3 separate regions of the Homo sapiens genome follow, and all the other regions are linked to region 3. Evidence: promoter capture Hi-C in 16 types of primary human blood cells and fetal thymus (Javierre and others, 2016). All regions are on one chromosome and are shown on one strand. Each heading gives the region's core, a stretch centred on a gene start or on the middle of the fragment in contact. The rest is flanking DNA. Distances are from core to core; before and after follow the strand shown.

Evidence for each region. Contacts are between HindIII fragments. The CHiCAGO score rates a contact against its expected background, and 5 or more counts as called.
Region 1: a contact is called between a fragment that was not itself captured here and the fragment with the promoter of GPR26 in region 3, in 1 of 17 cell types (endothelial precursors). The highest score is 6.3, in endothelial precursors.
Region 2: a contact is called between a fragment that was not itself captured here and the fragment with the promoter of GPR26 in region 3, in 1 of 17 cell types (endothelial precursors). The highest score is 7.3, in endothelial precursors.

The regions. Positions count from the first base shown.
Region 1 is chr10:123,927,104-123,930,357 of GRCh38, forward strand. It overlaps a transcript of CPXM2 not described here. Among named protein-coding and RNA genes, the nearest start is that of CPXM2, 37 kb to the left of the region's middle. RefSeq lists an enhancer at 1-308. The HindIII fragment of the contact is 4,757 bases long and covers 1-3,254 here.
Region 2 is chr10:123,946,519-123,949,681 of GRCh38, forward strand. No RefSeq gene overlaps it. Among named protein-coding and RNA genes, the nearest start is that of CPXM2, 56 kb to the left of the region's middle. RefSeq lists an enhancer at 1,911-2,591. The HindIII fragment of the contact is 2,245 bases long and covers 560-2,804 here.
Region 3 is chr10:123,664,652-123,667,671 of GRCh38, forward strand. GPR26 (G protein-coupled receptor 26) reads left to right here and starts at 1,704. Exons shown (of 3, transcript NM_153442.4): 1 at 1,704-2,424. The coding sequence starts at 1,757. RefSeq lists enhancers at 912-1,449, 1,450-1,988, 1,989-2,526. The HindIII fragment of the contact is 9,100 bases long and covers 1-3,020 here.

The sequences.
Region 1 (3,254 bases), core at 641-3,140, 260 kb after region 3:
CAATTTCCAGACCCCAGCCACACTCCACAGGGGTCCCCTCATGCATGCCAAGCTCCAGCTCACCACTGGGCCTTTTCAAAGGTTGCTCCCTTTACAGGAAGGACAGTCTCTCCTCTTTCTCTACCTCCCTTGAGGCTTCTGCTCTGGCAGCCTCCTGTGTCCCACCCTTCAGTGATGCTAGACAAGCAAAATGCCCCTGTGCCTCAGTGTTCTCATCCATAAAGTGGGCATGATAATAGTACCTGCCTCATTGTTGTTGAGTTGATGTGAGAATCAGAATAGCCAATTCTTACAATCAGAGAGTAAAAACGTACATAGGCTTATCTCATGCCAGGCACTATCCTAAGCACCTCACATGCCTTTAACTCATTTAATCCTCCCCATGACCTACAAGTGCTAATGTCAACCTCACTTTACAGATGAGGAGACTAACGCACCTTGCCCAAGGTCACACAGCAAATGAATGGCAGAGCCAGGATTTATACCAAGCAAGTGAGCTCTGGAGTCCAGGTGCTTACCTGTTGCTCATGCGGCCTTAGGGCTCCCAACTGCACCTGGTTCATTAGCTCCCAGTAGCTGTTAACAACTATTCTCATTGGCCAGACACCTGCCACTCTGGAAGTAACTGCTTGTGCAATCACTGCACCAGGCTTTGTTACCCCCAGATGAGTACAAATGGGTCACGTTCATAATTTCTTCCAACATTTGTGTGGTTTTAGTTCCCACCTACTTGTTAGCAAGATATCCAATCTCGTTTCCCTGGATCTCCCTTTCGGGAATTTTCTCCAGGAACCCCCCAGTGTTGGGGGTAGGTACCAGGCACTTCCATTCTCTTTGCCCACCCAGGATCTGCACACCCCTGAGGACTAACACACTCAACTGTGCCCCCACCTCCTGGCCTATTCATGAGTGTCAATGCCCACATTAACACACAGCACAGAGCTTGTCTGCCAAACCTCCTGGCTGGGGCACCCACTCCCCTCCACCACCATGTACTCCTATCAGCCTGCCTTCTGCGAGACCTTCATAGACCACAGATTCATGCTTGGAAACTGGTTTCTTGAGTGCTGAACAAGGGAGGCCACCAGAGAGCTTTGATTCACCACAAAGATTGTCCGTGGACACCTGGCCTGGCCAACCTCAATAGCTGGTTCCAAACCTCTCCAAAAACTCTTCAAAGACAGCCAGAGTGGATGGTCTGATGACCCCTGGGAGTGGTGGACTGTTTCTGTATTTTGAGATGCAGATTTTAAATGACTGCAATTTAAAATTGGTGAATTTTATTCTATGTGAATTATGTCTCAACAAAGCAGAATACACCAACACATGTGGCCACAGCATGCTCTTCTTATAATATGGCCTTGACACTGCTCTATCAAATTGTGGCATCTCTCTCCCCTCCCCTTGATCCTATGTTGACCAACAGATGATGGTAGAAACATCCCTATCTCTATGTGACTTCTGAGACAAGGTCAGAAAATTCTGCTTTGTTCTGTTAGGACATTCATGCTTGGAAGCTAGCCACCATGCTGTGAGGAAGCCCAAGCAGCCACACGGAGATGCTATCTCTGGGTGTTCCCGCTAACAGCCCTGGCTGAGATCTCAGGTAATAGCCAGCATCAAATGTTCAACATGAGTGAATGAGCCTTCAGATGACTCCATCCCACAGCCATTTAGTCCCCTAGCCTTTGAGGCTTCCCAGACATCAGAGATAGGAATAAGCCATTCCCACTGGCTTCTGTCCAAATTACTGGTTCACAAAATCCATGGCCGTTGAAAAATATACTTGGTTTATGCCACTAAGTTTGAGGTGGTTTATTATACAACAGTGGTAACTGGGAGATGGGGCTTCCCCAGAAGATCCTGGGAAGACTGTGGTCCTGAGTGGAGCAGGGGGGCACTCCTACAGGGGGCCTATAGCTGGTACCTCTCCTAGGCAGGAGTCCAGGACAGGGAATCCTGGAGAAGCCAGCAGGTTTGAAGCCAGGAGACATCTGAGACCTTGTTGGGAGATCAGAGAAAGGATCTGTCAGAGGTGACAGGATGGGGCAGGCAGTGCCAGGACAGATGATGGCTCAGCATGCAAACTGGACTGCTTTTGGGTGGCCACAGTTAGGGACCTGAGGAGCCAATGGGCTGGGGCACTGGCAGAGTGCAGGGAGGATGAATTTCGGAGGATTCATGAGGCCAGACCCCGGGCCCATGGGAGGGCACTGGTGCCTTGGCAATCCTTCCCCTGGAGTGAATGAGGCTGACTCAGCTTCTAGGAGCTGGGGGCTTCCTGGTCAGCACCACTGATGGCTTTATGGGCCAGAGTCCCTCCAGTCTTTGACAAAAGTGAAATTGCAGAACAGCAACTGAATCTGAGAAGAGACCAGATAAACTGAGGAGCTACAAACAAGGCTAGGAGGAGGAAAGCCAGGAGGCCACCATGGAAGAAACCTCATTTTCTCCCTGCCCTCGCTGTTTCACTTCCTTTTGGATCCCAGTGTAGAGTGGGTGCTCTGGCCAGAGTCCTCATTTCTGCTTCTCCCCACCCACCCTCACCCCCACTATTCCTGCTGGGAAGGGTCCCTTTGCCTTCTGCAAGCCTTATTTTAAAATGGCTACCTGCAAGGAACCTGCTGCCCCTTTGGTGGTAGCCCAGAAAGGCAAGCAGGTCCTGTCTTAGAGCGGGGTGTGCACCCACACAGATACACAGCCCGCCCCTGCCAGCTCTGGATCCCTGCCAAAGACCCCATCTGTAATCAGAAAGGGACAAGAAGCCTGGGGTCACAGCTCCAACCACCGGGTCATGCTTCCTTCCTTGGGTAGGGCGTCCCTGGTGTGCCCAGAGCTGCTGCTGAAGCAGAGGTGACAGAGGTTCCCACCACCTCCCCTCCCAGGCATCTGCTGTGGGCGTGGCTGCCCAGCCCGTCCTGGGCCATCTCTGTCCCCTGAAGAACCTGGCTCCCCTCCACCCCTGTCTTCCACGCAGCCACCAGCCTGGTCCTTTTCTCACACCTGATACACGAAGCACACTGAAAAGGCCACCTCACAGTGACACACTTTGATAGCTTGAGTTCTCAGCTCTCCTGGGAAAATTCATGCCTGAGTACACGTGGGCCCTGTAAGGCAATCCCAGACCCCTCTCCTGGGCTTTTGCTCAAACCTCCATCCCACAGCCCTGCTTCAAAGTTACTCTTTGAGACTTTCTGTTTGCTCCCCGCAGCACCATCTGAACTGGAGGCAGAGGTGCTGTCCTCAGGAGAAAA
Region 2 (3,163 bases), core at 432-2,931, 280 kb after region 3:
GGACTACAGGCGCCCGCCACTGCGCCCGGCTAATTTTTTGTATTTTTAGTAGAGACGGGGTTTCACCTTGTTAGCCAGGATGGTCTCGATCTCCTGACCTCATGATCCACCCGCCTCGGCCTCCCAAAGTGCTGGGATTACAGGCGTGAGCCACCGCGCCCGGCCTGAATTTTGTTGTTAAAGCAGCTAGCTTCCACCTCCCAGGTGGCTCCCTGGCAACCACACATATTTCAGTGTGAATGGCATTGTGGTTCTTTGGCCACACCAGCCTTGGAATTGTCTTTCTTGGCTACCAGCTTTTTCATCTTCCCCACCTCTCACTGGGTCTTCTCTTCCTCTCCACTCTTTCTCCCTCTGCCACATCCCTGCCTCTTGAATTGTGCCCAGGGATTCCAGATCCTTCTCTCTTATGCAAAGCATAGCTGTCAATAGATGACCAAGTATAAGGGCTTGTTTTCAGAGTAGTCTTGGGAGAGAGGGAAGAGGGGAGGTATTTGCCTTTGTGAGGGGTTGAGGGTGGGGGCTGAGCTTAGAACTGGGAGACTAAGCTTAGGTGGGAAGCTTACGGGACCAGGCTCTAGCAGATTCTGCTGTGGGTGCTTGGGCAGTGCTGAGACCATTTAGCCCCCTGCAACAACTGGGGAAGGGAGGAGGGCAGGCAGACGTGGACCTGGGCACGCCAGGGACACAGACCTTTCGCCATCTCCAGCACTCAGGTTTTTCTGCTTCTCCAGAACTGAATTGGCACGTGGGTGGTCAGAGTCAAGAACATCTCTTTGAGTCGTAACAGAGAAAAGGTATTGAGTATTAGCAGGGGAGAGTTACTGAAACAAAGAAATGCCTTAAAGTATTCATATTCTCAGTGACAAGCAACATAATTCAGCAGGCATCATTGAAACTGTCGGGGAGAAAACTCCTGGCAAGTTTCTATGGCATAAGCATCAACAATGGCAGCTGATTTTACAAGTCCCGTTGTTACTCACCGAAGATGTTTACAGTGGATTGGACATTTTCTTCATTCCTTGTGCTGTCACTCTCAAGCTCCTACAGAAGCCACTGCGGGCCCCACACAGCATGCGCCCCTCCATTCTCCCCAGCACTGCCTGAAAGCAGCCCTGACAAGCCTCACCTGCATTCACAAGGCTTCCTCCCAACTGCTTTCCTGCCTCCGCCTTTTCTTCCTCTAACACATGCTCCACAGCCACTGTGATCTTTTAAACTCACATTTATAGCCATGTCAATCTTCTGCTTCAAACCCTCTGAAGGCTGCCCATTCCCCTCAAGATAAAGCTCATCTCCCTTAGTGGGGCAGGGTCACCCTGCTCAGTTATTTGAGTTGTGCACTGCACAAGTGTAGGGGTGCTCTGAGACACATCTGTACTCCACGCCCATGAAAGTAACACAGAGAGAGACCTTCGAGGCCTTCAGGTCCCCAAATCTCTCTGGCCTAACGTGTCACCGTCTTTGACAGACGCTTTCTATCCAGCCACTTAGAATTCCCAGTCCATGCGGCTCGGTCCCTTCTGCTTGGAACTCCTCCCCACTCCCTTCTTCCTCCAGGTGTTTCCCATTCACCCTTCTTCCTCCAGGTGTTTCCCATTCATCCTTCACAGCTCAGTTCAGCATCACGTCCTCCAGGAGGCTGCCCCATCCCCTTGCCAATTCTCTCTGCTCCTCCTACACCCACCAGGTGGCTGTGGTTTCTCTAATACCCACATCAAAGCACAGGTCACTCTGTGCTCTGCCTACACCATGAGTTCCCGGAGGATGACTACGTCTCGGGAGATGGGAGGTGAGATTTGGACTGTCCCTCATAGAGCAGGTGGGCCCAGAAGCAGAGGCACAGATGGCTACCCCTCAGCCAGAGGAAGGCCATGAGGGAAAAGCTGCAGGAAGCCAGAGGGAAACTGAGGCCAGGATCAGGGCTCTGAGGCTGATAAACCTATCAACCAGGGTCACCATGGGAAAACTGAAGCAAAGATGGCAGGTAGTTGCTGAAAATATTCACTGACCCCTTCCCCAACCCGTCTCCGTCCCTTCCCCCCACCACACTGCTCATCTCCAGCCAGGCCTTTTCTGGGCCACAGCCACCAACTCCTACTCACCCCAGGGCCAACAAGACACGTGCTAACTCAGCCTGGCACAAATGCCCTGGGAAGGGCCTGGGTGGCAAAGGGTTAAGATGGGCAGGCTCAATGCAAATGGCACCACTGGCCTGTGGGAATGGTGCAGGCCTAGGGTTTGATCCAGCTCATCATTATAATATACGATGTTAATGGGGCTCAAAGAACTAAGGTGAAGGGTGCCCTTTAATCCCCTTGAGGTAAGATGCAGATCCCCAGCTTGGCTGGAGACACAATATTCTCTCCTAGACCATCGGGAGCTTGACCCATGGGCACTGGCAATGAACCTCTCAGAATCCTTGTTTACCTACAAGAGATAATAAAACCGCATAATCACGGAAATGAATACGCATAGTCACAGAGATCAACCAAGAGTGACTGAATCTTCCATTCTGCTGGAATGATTAAAATTCTCCAGATGGGTCTTTGCTGTAAGAGGTCAGATAATTGGATTCTCTCTAAAGGGAGAGCTCTTTCCTTCTGCATCCACAGAGCAAATACCTATTTGAGAGTTCAGGCCCGGGAGGCCCTGTGGGGTGGGCAATGACAACTTCGGAGCACGCAGGGGTGCGGGTCCGGGGATGGACACAGGAAGAACAGGCCAGGGCAGTGACATGACCTCACATCAAGGAAGCCAGGCTCTTGTTTGGTTTTGTTTTTAAATAAAACTGCTATGTTAAAAGCTTTTTGTTCTATACTGAGTTTCTAAATCTTGGGCTTCTTTTTTCTTTAAATGACAAACAGATCATGATGAAGGCATTTTGTTATGTATGTTAAATGCAGACATTTCCAGAGAAAACAAATAAAAGGCAGACATAACACAGGCTTATGCGTCTGTGCTCAGATGCTTGTGCATTCGCTCAGTTACTTAAATGAAGTCAGTTTCTATCGTCTTGTATTACGCAGAAAGGGGAGTATTTTCGAAGCCCTTTCTCAATTAAAGGGGAATGGATCTGTCCGATCTTTTCTCCAACATGGTTTTACAACAGGGTCCTTTCCTCCCTGCCCCACTCCTTCTGTAGGAGTTGACTGCTTCTTCC
Region 3 (3,020 bases), core at 454-2,953:
ATTCCTTTACAGCAAAGAAAAATGGCACAATACAGCATCTACAATGTGCTTGGTACTATGTGAAGGAGATAATTAAGTATAATGAGGTCTCTACCTTCAGGGCGTAGAGTCCACCACGTCCTTGCTTGGCTTACTTTATCTAGTGGCTTGAGGCCCAGGAATGTCCAGTCACCACTGGCCACACCAGGAGGCTCCAGAACAGGGCTTTCTATGTCCAGGACAGGGATCTGAGGTTGCTGACATGGTGCAGGGGGTCACTGCAGGGCAGCATCTCACAGAGTTGAAGGGGGCTGCAGGGGTTCTGAGAGCTGCCCCTGCCTGTCCATCCCCACCCCTTCCCCACAGAGTCTTGGTTGAGAACCGAAGGGCCACAGTCCCTGCACACTTTGCTGAGGGGAGGCAGGGGTCCCCTGTGTCCAGGGTCTCTGTTGCTTGGACCATGCCTGCCAGCTGACACCCTCCCCATTTTCTGAAGAGTTCTGGCACCTTATATCAGGCAGGTCCCTCATAAACTAGAATGTGCTGCCTCACCAGTCTCAGGGCAGAGGGGTGTGTGGCTTCAGGGCTACAGGAGGCAGCTGCTGGAACTTGGAGCAGGACAACAGAGTATCCACCATACTAGGGTTAGCTGTCTAGGCTGGTTGTGGACAGCCTGGCTTGCCCAGGTGGGAGCAGTCAGGGTCAGCAAAGGCATCTCCCAGCTGGAGAGATGCCCAGGGGATGTTACAGAGAGCCTCGGGGTCCCTGCAGCAGGCTTAGGATTCAGCCGAAGCTCTGGCTGTAGGGCGAGGGAAAGAAGGCACTGAGAATCGAGTAACCTCAGTCATGCAGCAGCTGTTCTTGGGACAGACAGGCTGGGACACTCACGTCAAGGTCTGCCAGGATAGCATGCAGGCGGGGACAGGTGGCACTGGGGCGTGAAGGTGTCCAGGCATCCCTTCCTTTTCTCAGAGAGATTTCCTTGACTCAGCCTGTCTTTGACACACACGGGGGGATGGAGGATGTTGGGGGAAGGGAGCCACAGTGAGCCAATCACCCTGCACCGGAGCCTTCGGGGCTGGTTCCCTCCGAGCCTGTAAGTGTGAGTGTGTGTGCGCGAGTGTGTCTGTGTGTGCACCAGTGGGGATTTCTGTGATAGAAGCAGCCAGATTCCAGAGACAGAGAGAAGAGGAGGGGGAAGAACAAGAGAGGGGAGAAAATTGGGGGTGGGAGAGACAGACGGAGAGAACAGCGCGGGGGGCGGGGAGAGGGAGAGAGGTGGAGGGGAGAGCAGAGAGAGAGAGAGCGAGCCAGAGAGCAGAGAGGGAGGAAGAGAGAAAGCAAGAGAGCGGGAGGGTGCGCGGAGCGGAGCGGAGACAGAGCTCGCGGGCATGGGGTGAGAGCGGGAGGAAGCAGAGGCAGAGGCGGAGCAGGGGCGCAGGTGCCTGCAACCCAGGATCCCGGGGCGCTAAAGGCTTCGGGTTCTACCGCACGCTCAGTCGCTGGCTCCAGAGGTGCTGCTGGGGGCCAGGGTTCACTGCCGCGCGCCAGGTGCCTGCCCGTGAGGCGGCGCGGGGCTCCCGGGTGGCTGCGCGCCCAGACGCCTGCCCGGGAGGCCGCCTGAGGCTCCGGGGTGGCCGCGCGCCCTCCTGGGAGCCATGGCGGCTGGGGCCGGTGGTCGCCGGGCGGCGGCGGCGCCGAGGGGCTGAGCCGGCCGCGGGCAGCGCCATGGCGGCGCCGGGTTGCGGACCCTGAGCGCCGGCGCGGGGCGCGCACCATGAACTCGTGGGACGCGGGCCTGGCGGGGCTACTGGTGGGCACGATGGGCGTCTCGCTGCTGTCCAACGCGCTGGTGCTGCTCTGCCTGCTGCACAGCGCGGACATCCGCCGCCAGGCGCCGGCGCTCTTCACCCTGAACCTCACGTGCGGGAACCTGCTGTGCACCGTGGTCAACATGCCGCTCACGCTGGCCGGCGTCGTGGCGCAGCGGCAGCCGGCGGGCGACCGCCTGTGCCGCCTGGCTGCCTTCCTCGACACCTTCCTGGCTGCCAACTCCATGCTCAGCATGGCCGCGCTCAGCATCGACCGCTGGGTGGCCGTGGTCTTCCCGCTGAGCTACCGGGCCAAGATGCGCCTCCGCGACGCGGCGCTCATGGTGGCCTACACGTGGCTGCACGCGCTCACCTTCCCAGCCGCCGCGCTCGCCCTGTCCTGGCTCGGCTTCCACCAGCTGTACGCCTCGTGCACGCTGTGCAGCCGGCGGCCAGACGAGCGCCTGCGCTTCGCCGTCTTCACTGGCGCCTTCCACGCTCTCAGCTTCCTGCTCTCCTTCGTCGTGCTCTGCTGCACGTACCTCAAGGTGCTCAAGGTGGCCCGCTTCCATTGCAAGCGCATCGACGTGATCACCATGCAGACGCTGGTGCTGCTGGTGGACCTGCACCCCAGGTGAGCCGAGCGCAGCTAAGGCTCTGGGAACAGCCGCGCGGGATCTCGGCGGGAGTGGGAGGTCCCTAGCCCCAGGGGCTCTTTTCCACCGAGCCTCTGTTTCTTCTGAGAACTCGAGGGTGGGGAAAGCGGCCCAGCTGTGGGGCTTAAGGAGGTGCTTAGGGTATCAGCAAACCAGGGCCACAAAAAATGCGGGTGAGCCCATCTATACATCGGTTTTTGAAGCATCAGGGTAGAAATCACAGACAGTCAGAACTCTGTTGGGCTTCTTCATGCACATTTTCTGTGTTTGTAGCTTTCACTTTAAATGGCACATGGGAAGTCCGTGGTCTTTGTTCCCTATTAAAGACCTTCAAAGTGTTTGATTCTGGCCGAGAGGGCGGCCTCGATGCTTAGGGAGCTCCTTAAGAGCTTTTCAGACCCAAGTGTGTCGCTTCTCTGAGTCTTTCCCTTCTCGGGTGTGTGGCGCTGCCTCTGTCTCACGACTGTGTGTGTGTGTGTGTGTGTGTGTGTGTGTGTGTGTGTGAATTCTGATGGACTCGGGCTGCGTCCTTCTCTGTGGTGGGCCCTGAGGGGTGGGGTGGGGGGCTCTTCCT